Regions from separate parts of the Homo sapiens genome. Here region 1 is linked to region 2. Evidence: promoter capture Hi-C in human tissues and cell types (Jung and others, 2019). All regions are on one chromosome and are shown on one strand. Each heading gives the region's core, a stretch centred on a gene start or on the middle of the fragment in contact. The rest is flanking DNA. Distances are from core to core; before and after follow the strand shown.

Evidence for each region. The method cuts DNA at HindIII sites, captures the fragments that hold promoters and counts their contacts. A contact is called where the count stands out against the background at its distance.
Region 1: a fragment that was not itself captured here is called in contact with the fragment with the promoter of GLTP in region 2 in 1 of the 25 tissues and cell types used here (adrenal gland).

Annotation. Positions count from the first base shown.
Region 1 is chr12:109,620,761-109,624,317 of GRCh38, forward strand. No RefSeq gene overlaps it. Among named protein-coding and RNA genes, the nearest start is that of MVK, 49 kb to the left of the region's middle. The HindIII fragment of the contact is 6,657 bases long and covers 1-3,557 here.
Region 2 is chr12:109,878,416-109,882,009 of GRCh38, forward strand. GLTP (glycolipid transfer protein) reads right to left here and starts at 2,126. Exons shown (of 5, transcript NM_016433.4): 1 at 1,857-2,126. The coding sequence starts at 1,959. LOC124903012 (a long non-coding RNA gene) reads right to left here and starts at 2,986. Exons shown (of 3, transcript XR_007063455.1): 1 at 2,946-2,986; 2 at 2,700-2,759; 3 at 2,483-2,592. It also overlaps a transcript of TCHP not described here. RefSeq lists a silencer at 1,834-2,383 and an enhancer at 2,708-3,209. The HindIII fragment of the contact is 8,000 bases long and covers 1-3,594 here.

The DNA.
Region 1 (3,557 bases), core at 185-2,684, 260 kb before region 2:
CAGTGAGCCGAGATCATGCTACTGCACTCCAGCCTGGCGATAGAGCAAGACCCTGTCTCAAAAAAAAGAAAAAAAGAAAATTTAAAGGTATTAATTAAAAAAATCTCAACCTTTGAACATGCCACTTCTAAATATTCTGTGTGACAAAATGGGAAGTATGTACAACAAGAACCCTCTCTCCTGGCTCCGTCGTTGCTTGAGACAAGCACCGTGTGACTGGGTTGCAAGCTGCGCTAGCCACTCTTCATGGAACACCATTTGTACTTGAAAGAACAACCAACCAACAAACTATAGCCTTTCAGACTGGGACATTGGCAGATATTCTCTTAAAAATGAACAAAGTTGCCTGTCAACTGACAGTATTTGTTGCCAATGATAAAATTTGACTTGCAAGCAAAAATTAGAATTTTGGAGAACTTGTGTCTGCCACCGTGGGTTTGACAGCTTCCTACTTAAATACTTTCCCAGAGACTGGTGGTATATTAGTGAATGTGACTTTTTTGGATATTGTATTATGAAATGTGACATCATCTAGAAGAGATGCATAATTCAGTAAACCAGTATTTTTTCCAATGACCAATGCATCATGTTACAAAATGAATAAAAGACCCATTCAAAGTGCAAAGCAGACCAGCGGGTTTTAACAGAGTAGGAAGAGCTCATTGATGTGGTTTCAGATACCATATTGTAACAAACCATTGAGAAACTACCACTTGTGAAGATCTGGTTTAGTATCCAAGAAGGATATCCATAATTATCTGAGAAGGCTATTAAAATACTCTTTCCTTTTTGAGCCAAATATCTGTGTGAAGCCAGATATTCTTCCCACACTTAAACCAAAACATGTTGCAACAAGCTGAATGCAAAAGCACATATGAGAATCCAGCTGTGTTCTATTAAGCCAGTCATTACAGAGATTTGCAAAAATGTTAAACAATAAATGAATTCCCATTTTATGGGTGCTGAAACTGGGGCTTAGAAAGTGGCAGAGCTGTGCCTTGGATCAAATCCCTTTCTCTGCTGTGCCTCAGTCTCCCCATCTGGTCGCCGACCTAGAAGCTGATGAGCAAAGGTCTTCTCACATCTCCTGCCCAGGCATCAGTGCCAGGCTCTGGCCCCTTGGCCCTCTTCCCCACCTGCTGCCCAAGGTGGGCGGGGTCCAGGCCCTGGGAGGCTGGTGGCCAGCCTCACGTCCCCAGGCCTGGCAAGGAGATGACCAGGGTCGTTTGCAGTAATGAATTGCGGACGGGTGGCGGCCGGGTGAAGGAGTGCGCCGGCCATGGCCCGTAATGCCTCACACGCCAGGTCTGGCACGGGTAATTTACTGCCACCGACAATAACATATTTCACTTCCCGTCGCCCCAATGAAGATTAGTTGTGTTTGCAAGTGGCTGAGTACACAGTCAATTCCGCTTAAACGTTTACAGTCAACTGAGCACAGATAATGCCCCCTCCGAACATGTATCTGTGCCTCCTGCAGCTCGGGGAGGGGCTCAGAGCAGAGGAAGGGGGTCCCCGCCCCAGGAAGGGACTGCAGCTGCTGCTTCACCGAGACCCAGGCTGTATAGTGGGAGGGATTTGGGAGCCGGGGGTTGGGCTGAGATCTATAGCTTCCTTTGATGCCCCCCTCCCCCACCTCTTTTCAGATTGTCCTTTAAAATCATTCATTCAACAAACACTTTGCTAAGGACCTCTGTATAGCCTTTAGGTACAGGGAGAATTCAAAGCCATGATTATATTTGATTCTAGCGACATCCTAGGAGGCATATTTGCTCTCCAGTTTCCAAAAGAAGGGAAGTTAAGGCTCAGGGAGGCTCAATAGCTTTCCCAAGGTCACATAGCTGGTGCCATGCAGAGTCAGGATTTGAACCCAGGCCTGATGGGGTTTCTGAGTCTCATATTATTCCTAGTGGTCCTGATTGTACAAGCTTGAGCCCTGGCCTGGGCTAGATTGTCTGCCCTGTCCAACAATGGCCCCACAGCTGCTAGAGGAACTCTAGATTCATATTCCCTGTGCACCTATATTTGGGTTGACCAGTAGACTCTGGTTTGGAATCCCTGGGTCAGGTAGGGGGTCCTATGGCAGGGCTGGGGTGCTTTGAGCCTGAAGTCATTTAAGCCTGGACAGAGGAGGGAGGCCTGGAATTTTTCTTGTCAGGTGAAGGAGTTTGCTCCTGAGAAGCAGGCTTCTTTTCTTTTTTTTTCTTTTTCCTTTTTTCTTCTTTTTTTCTTTCTTTCTTTTCCTTTTTTTTTTTTTGACAGGGTCTTACTCTATCACCTAGGCTGGAGTGCATTGAGGCAGTCATGGCTCACTGCAGCCTCAACCTCCTAGGCTCAGGTGGTCCTCCCACCTCAGCCTCCCAAGTAGCTGGGACCACAGGTGCACACCATCATCCCCAGCTAATTTTTTTTTTCTTTTTGAGATGAAGTCTCACTCTGTTGCCCAGGTTGGAGTGCAGTGGTGCCATCTTGGCTCACTGCAACCTCCGCCTCCTGAGTTCAAGCCATTCTCCTGCCTCAGCCTCCCGAGTAGCTGGGACTACAGGCGCCCACCACCATGCCCAGCTAATTTTTATATTTTTTGTAGAGACTGGATTTCCCCATGTTGCCCAGGCTGGTCTGGAACTACTCCTGGACTCAAACAATCTGCTTACATCAGCCTCCCAAAGTCCTCCCAGGTGTGAGCCACCATGCCTGGCCAACAAACAGGCTTCTTTTTTTTTTTTTTTTTTTTCCTGAGACAAAGTCTCATTCTGTTGCCTAGGCTGGAGTGCAGTGGCACCGTCTCAGCTCACCACAACCTCCGCCTCCCAGGTTCAAGTGATTCTTCTGCCTCAGCCTCCCGAGTAGCTGGGATTACAGGTACCCACCACTTACGCCCAGTTAATTTTGTATATTTAGTAGAGATGGGGTTTCACCATGTTGGCCAGGATGGTCTCAAACTCCTGACCTCAAGTGATCCACCTACCTTGGCCTCCCAAAGTGCTTTGATTACAAGTGTGAGCCACCGCACCCAGCCCAAACAGGTTTCTTGATGAGGGTTGCCCAGTCCAGTCCTGGGGCCCAGCTCCCCACCAGACCTACCCCTGACACTTGCAGGGTCTAGAGTTGGTATGCATGGAGGCCCTGGCCCCAGGCCACCCAGCCCTGTCTTCCCAACATGGGCTGCAGCCAGGACTGGAAAGACCTTGCTTACATATATGTAGATGCCAGCCCACCAGGCCCAGCTCCAGACACACCCACCCCCTGAAACGGCTGCCCCTTGGCCAAGAGGCCTACTCTTACTGGTGGCAGATTTGTCCTGGGAGCATGGACCTTGGATGGGCTTAGGGAAGGGCCCCTCCAGGCCACAGAAGGGGGCTGAGGGCTGTTGGAGAAGGGGATTCCAGGATCTCAGCTTCTGGATTCGGTCAGGAGAGGGGCAGGCCCCCGGTGGGCACGTCCCCTGTGGGAGGGGGCTCAGCTGAGTCCTCTAAGTAGCAAGCAGGTAGTCCAGGTCCAAGGTGATGCCATCTCCAAGCTATCCTTGCTCATGGCCAGGGGGGTGTTGGGGAGGC
Region 2 (3,594 bases), core at 876-3,375:
GACACCCCGTGCCCCATCCCCCAACTCAGTTGCAACAAAAATGCCTCCAGGCATTGTCAGATGTACCCTAAGGGGCAAAACTGCCCTCAGTTGAGAACCACTGGCTTAAATGGATTCTGAATCCCTGTCCAGGGCAAGCTGGCTCTGACTTGGAACTATTCCTGCAACCAAAGAGGAAACAAGCAAGCAAAAAAAAAACAACAACAACCAACAACATCACAAAATTAAACAACTTTTCAATGCTAGAGCTGGTTCGCTCCCAAGCCCCCACCTGGAGAGTCAGTATTATCTCAAGACTGTGACACTGATAATAAGAAAGTTTTGTGCATTCAGCAGTATTGACTGAGCATCTGCTATGTGCCAGGCACTGTTCTGGGCACTGAGGACACAGAGTGGATGTAAAAAACCAAGCCCTTGCTCTCAGGTTGCTTACCCAGGTCTGGGAATCATACACACCAGACAATTGCACTCCCTCAAACACCGATTAATCACTCTAGCAAGGAACCAAAACTGGATTCAGGAACTTAAAACCACACCCCCTACAGCGAAGACCTATTTGGCACTTACGGCCTCGGTACTTTACACACACCACCTCATCGACTCCTCACAGCTGCCCTAGGAGATCAGCATCCCCGTTTCACAGCTGGGGACACTGAGGCTCACGAGGTGAAGGAGGGGAACTATAGCCTCCAGGTAACCACAACCATCCCAGAGCTCAGGACACTGTGGGAACTACCACCCCTAACAAGCCTTCTTTGCCCACTAAGTCGGACTGTCTTAAGATCTCCTGTCTTTGGGTTTCAGGTGGACTCTGCCCTGGGGGCTGGTATTTTCCTGCAAGGCCACCAAGTGAACCAGCAGGACAGGACAGAGCCCACATGGAGAAGGAGAATAGAGGCTCAGGTTGCACCCTTTACCCGGGACCCAAAAGGCAAAGGGCAGGGGCAGTGGTGCTGGCTTCTAGTTCCCATTTTCCATCTGGGGCCTTGGCTGGACTGGGCTAGGCTGAGGGAGTGCGGGAAGAGGGTCTGAAAGTGGACCGCCTTCCCAATGCGCCCAGGAACTTCCACACGACATACAGGGGAGGGGCTTCCTCTCGTAGAGCCCAAACTGAGGGAGGAATTGGTGCCAAGCTCTGTATGTCTGATGTCACCTCACAAAACAGCTCCCCCGACAACCCTCACCCCTGTCCTAAAAGGAGGAAAAACTTTAGGTGGTTTCCCCTAGAAAGAGGCCCTGGAATTTTGCAACTCCATCTTCAAAACCCTCTCCTTGTCCCCGCCTCACCAGGCTTCCTACCCTTGGAGGGGGAGATGGGAGTCTTTGATCTGGAATGGGCGAATTCTGAGGGAAGAAGGAAGGGTTTGTAGGTCCCATGAGGGAGAGGCTGGAAGCGTTCAAAGAGAAGGCTTATGAAATGGGGGGATTCATTGTAAGGGGAGCGAGTTGAGAGCCATCAGAAAGCGCCAGGGATGAAGGACTTTGGGGAAGAAGGGGCAGGAGGCTTTGGGGGAGATGGTGGATTACAGAATGCCTAAGGGAGATGGAAGATCATCCGTGTTGGGGGCACGGATGATCAGGGGGCATTTGGGGGATATGTAGGACTGTGAGGTGTCTAGGGAGAGGGAGGATTTGGGGAGGACAGGCAGGATGTGACATGTTTAGAGCGGAGAGGACTTGGGAGTGGTCCGGGAAAGGGAGAATTTAGGGTGAGTGGAGGGAAAGAGGATCTTGGGTGCCTGGGGAAACAGTACTTAGGGGTGTCTAGGGCAGAGATGGTTAGGGGATGCTCGGGGGAAGGAGGATTCGGGTGCGCGTGGGGCTGCGGGCCGCCTCCCCCCTCCATTCCGGCTCACCGAAGAAGGGCGGCAGGTGGGACACCGCCTCGAGGAAGGGCCCGGTCTCGATCTGCTTGTCCGCGGGCAGCGGCTTCAGCAAGTGTTCGGCCAGCAGCGCCATTTCGGGGTCGAGGCCCGCGGTGATGCCCCAGCCGGCGCCGCGGGCGTCGACACCGCCCCCCCGGCCGCCGCCGTCAGCGCCGGGGCCGTCACAGCCGCCCGCCGCAGGCTCCGGGGACGCCAGCGTCGCCACTTCCGCCCGCACGGCGCCCTCGTAGCCGAGCGCTCAGCGCCGCCCGCCGGCCGAGCGCCTAAACTGCCGGGCGCGCCGCCCCGCCCCCGCTCACCGGCTCCCAATCCGCGCCCGCCGCCGAGGTCTCCGCGCCCCCATTGGCCGGGGGGCCGGCCGGGGGCGGGACGCAGAGGAGGTGCGCCGGTTCATGGGTCCCGGAGGGCCCAAGTGAGCCGCTCCCAGGTGAGTCTTCCCCAGGTGTGCCTCCCGCCGCCCCCGGTTTGGCCCCCCAATCCGGGCGGGCCGACTCGGGCCAGGTCACAGCTCACAACCCGCCCACCAGCTCGGGTTACAGCCCCACCCAGCCAACGCTCCCCAGGACCCCCGTTTCCCCCAAAATTGTACCCCAGTAACCCCAAGTGACCTGGGTGGACACTGCTCTCCTGTTGGTCACGGTTCTCTTTCGCTACAACCGACGAGGACGCTCGATTGCTTGATTCTTGGTCTTCAATGACCTTATACCTGTTGAACACTGCTGAAGTCACAGTCTAACTCAGCCACTGCCCTGCTGGACAACTCCTGCTTCCCGAAATCTGGGGTCCAGTCTGCCCTCAACAGTCTGATGTTACCTGTTGTGAGGCAGAAAAATAGGGCCTGGAGGCAGGGAACATAAGGCTGACTTCCTAGACCTAAATCAAAAAGCACCTTAGCAATGACAGGAATGTAAACGGCTTTGCAACTTCACTTCATCCTCTCCATTCACGCCCTTTACACTTTGTAACTTCACATTCATCCTCTCCATTTACACAGACCACACACTCCAAGAAACATCCTCTCCATTTATACTTTGTAACTTCACATTCATCCTCTCCCACCAAGTAACATCCTCTCCATTTGCACATCCTCTCCATTTGCAATAGGGCACATTCTGAGTAAATGACTCTGTGACTTCACTTCATTCTCTTCATTTACATAGAATATTCACCAAGTAACCAATGGGAAACCTCTAGAGTATTGAGACCCTAGAAAATTCTGTAAGCAGAGCTCTTGAGCCTCTACGCTCAAGCCTGCTCCCAAACTGTGGGGTGGACTTTTCGTTCTCAGTAAATCCTTGCTTTTGCTTTCCTTGCTTCGTTTGTGTGTTTTCTCCAAGATGCCAAGTACCTGGACACCTTCTACTGGTAACAGCTGGAGCCAGCCCAGTTTATACCAATTCACCCACAACCTGGACACTTGTTTCCCAAACCTAATGTCTCTCCAACAGCCCAGGGTCCAGCTTCTCACACCTTGAATCACAAGTCATCTCAGCCACAACCCACCTAGATGCTTATGTCCTAAACCCAATGCCCAGCTTATGCAAAAATCTAACACACCATTGTTGAGAGCCTCTTATTCATTCCAGAATAAACATTTGCCATCCTTCCCACCCCTCCCCCACCCTCCACCACTATGTGTCATGCACTGCACTGGGCACTGAGGATAAAGTGAATGATACAGCAAAATCCCTGCCCTTGTGGAGCTGAC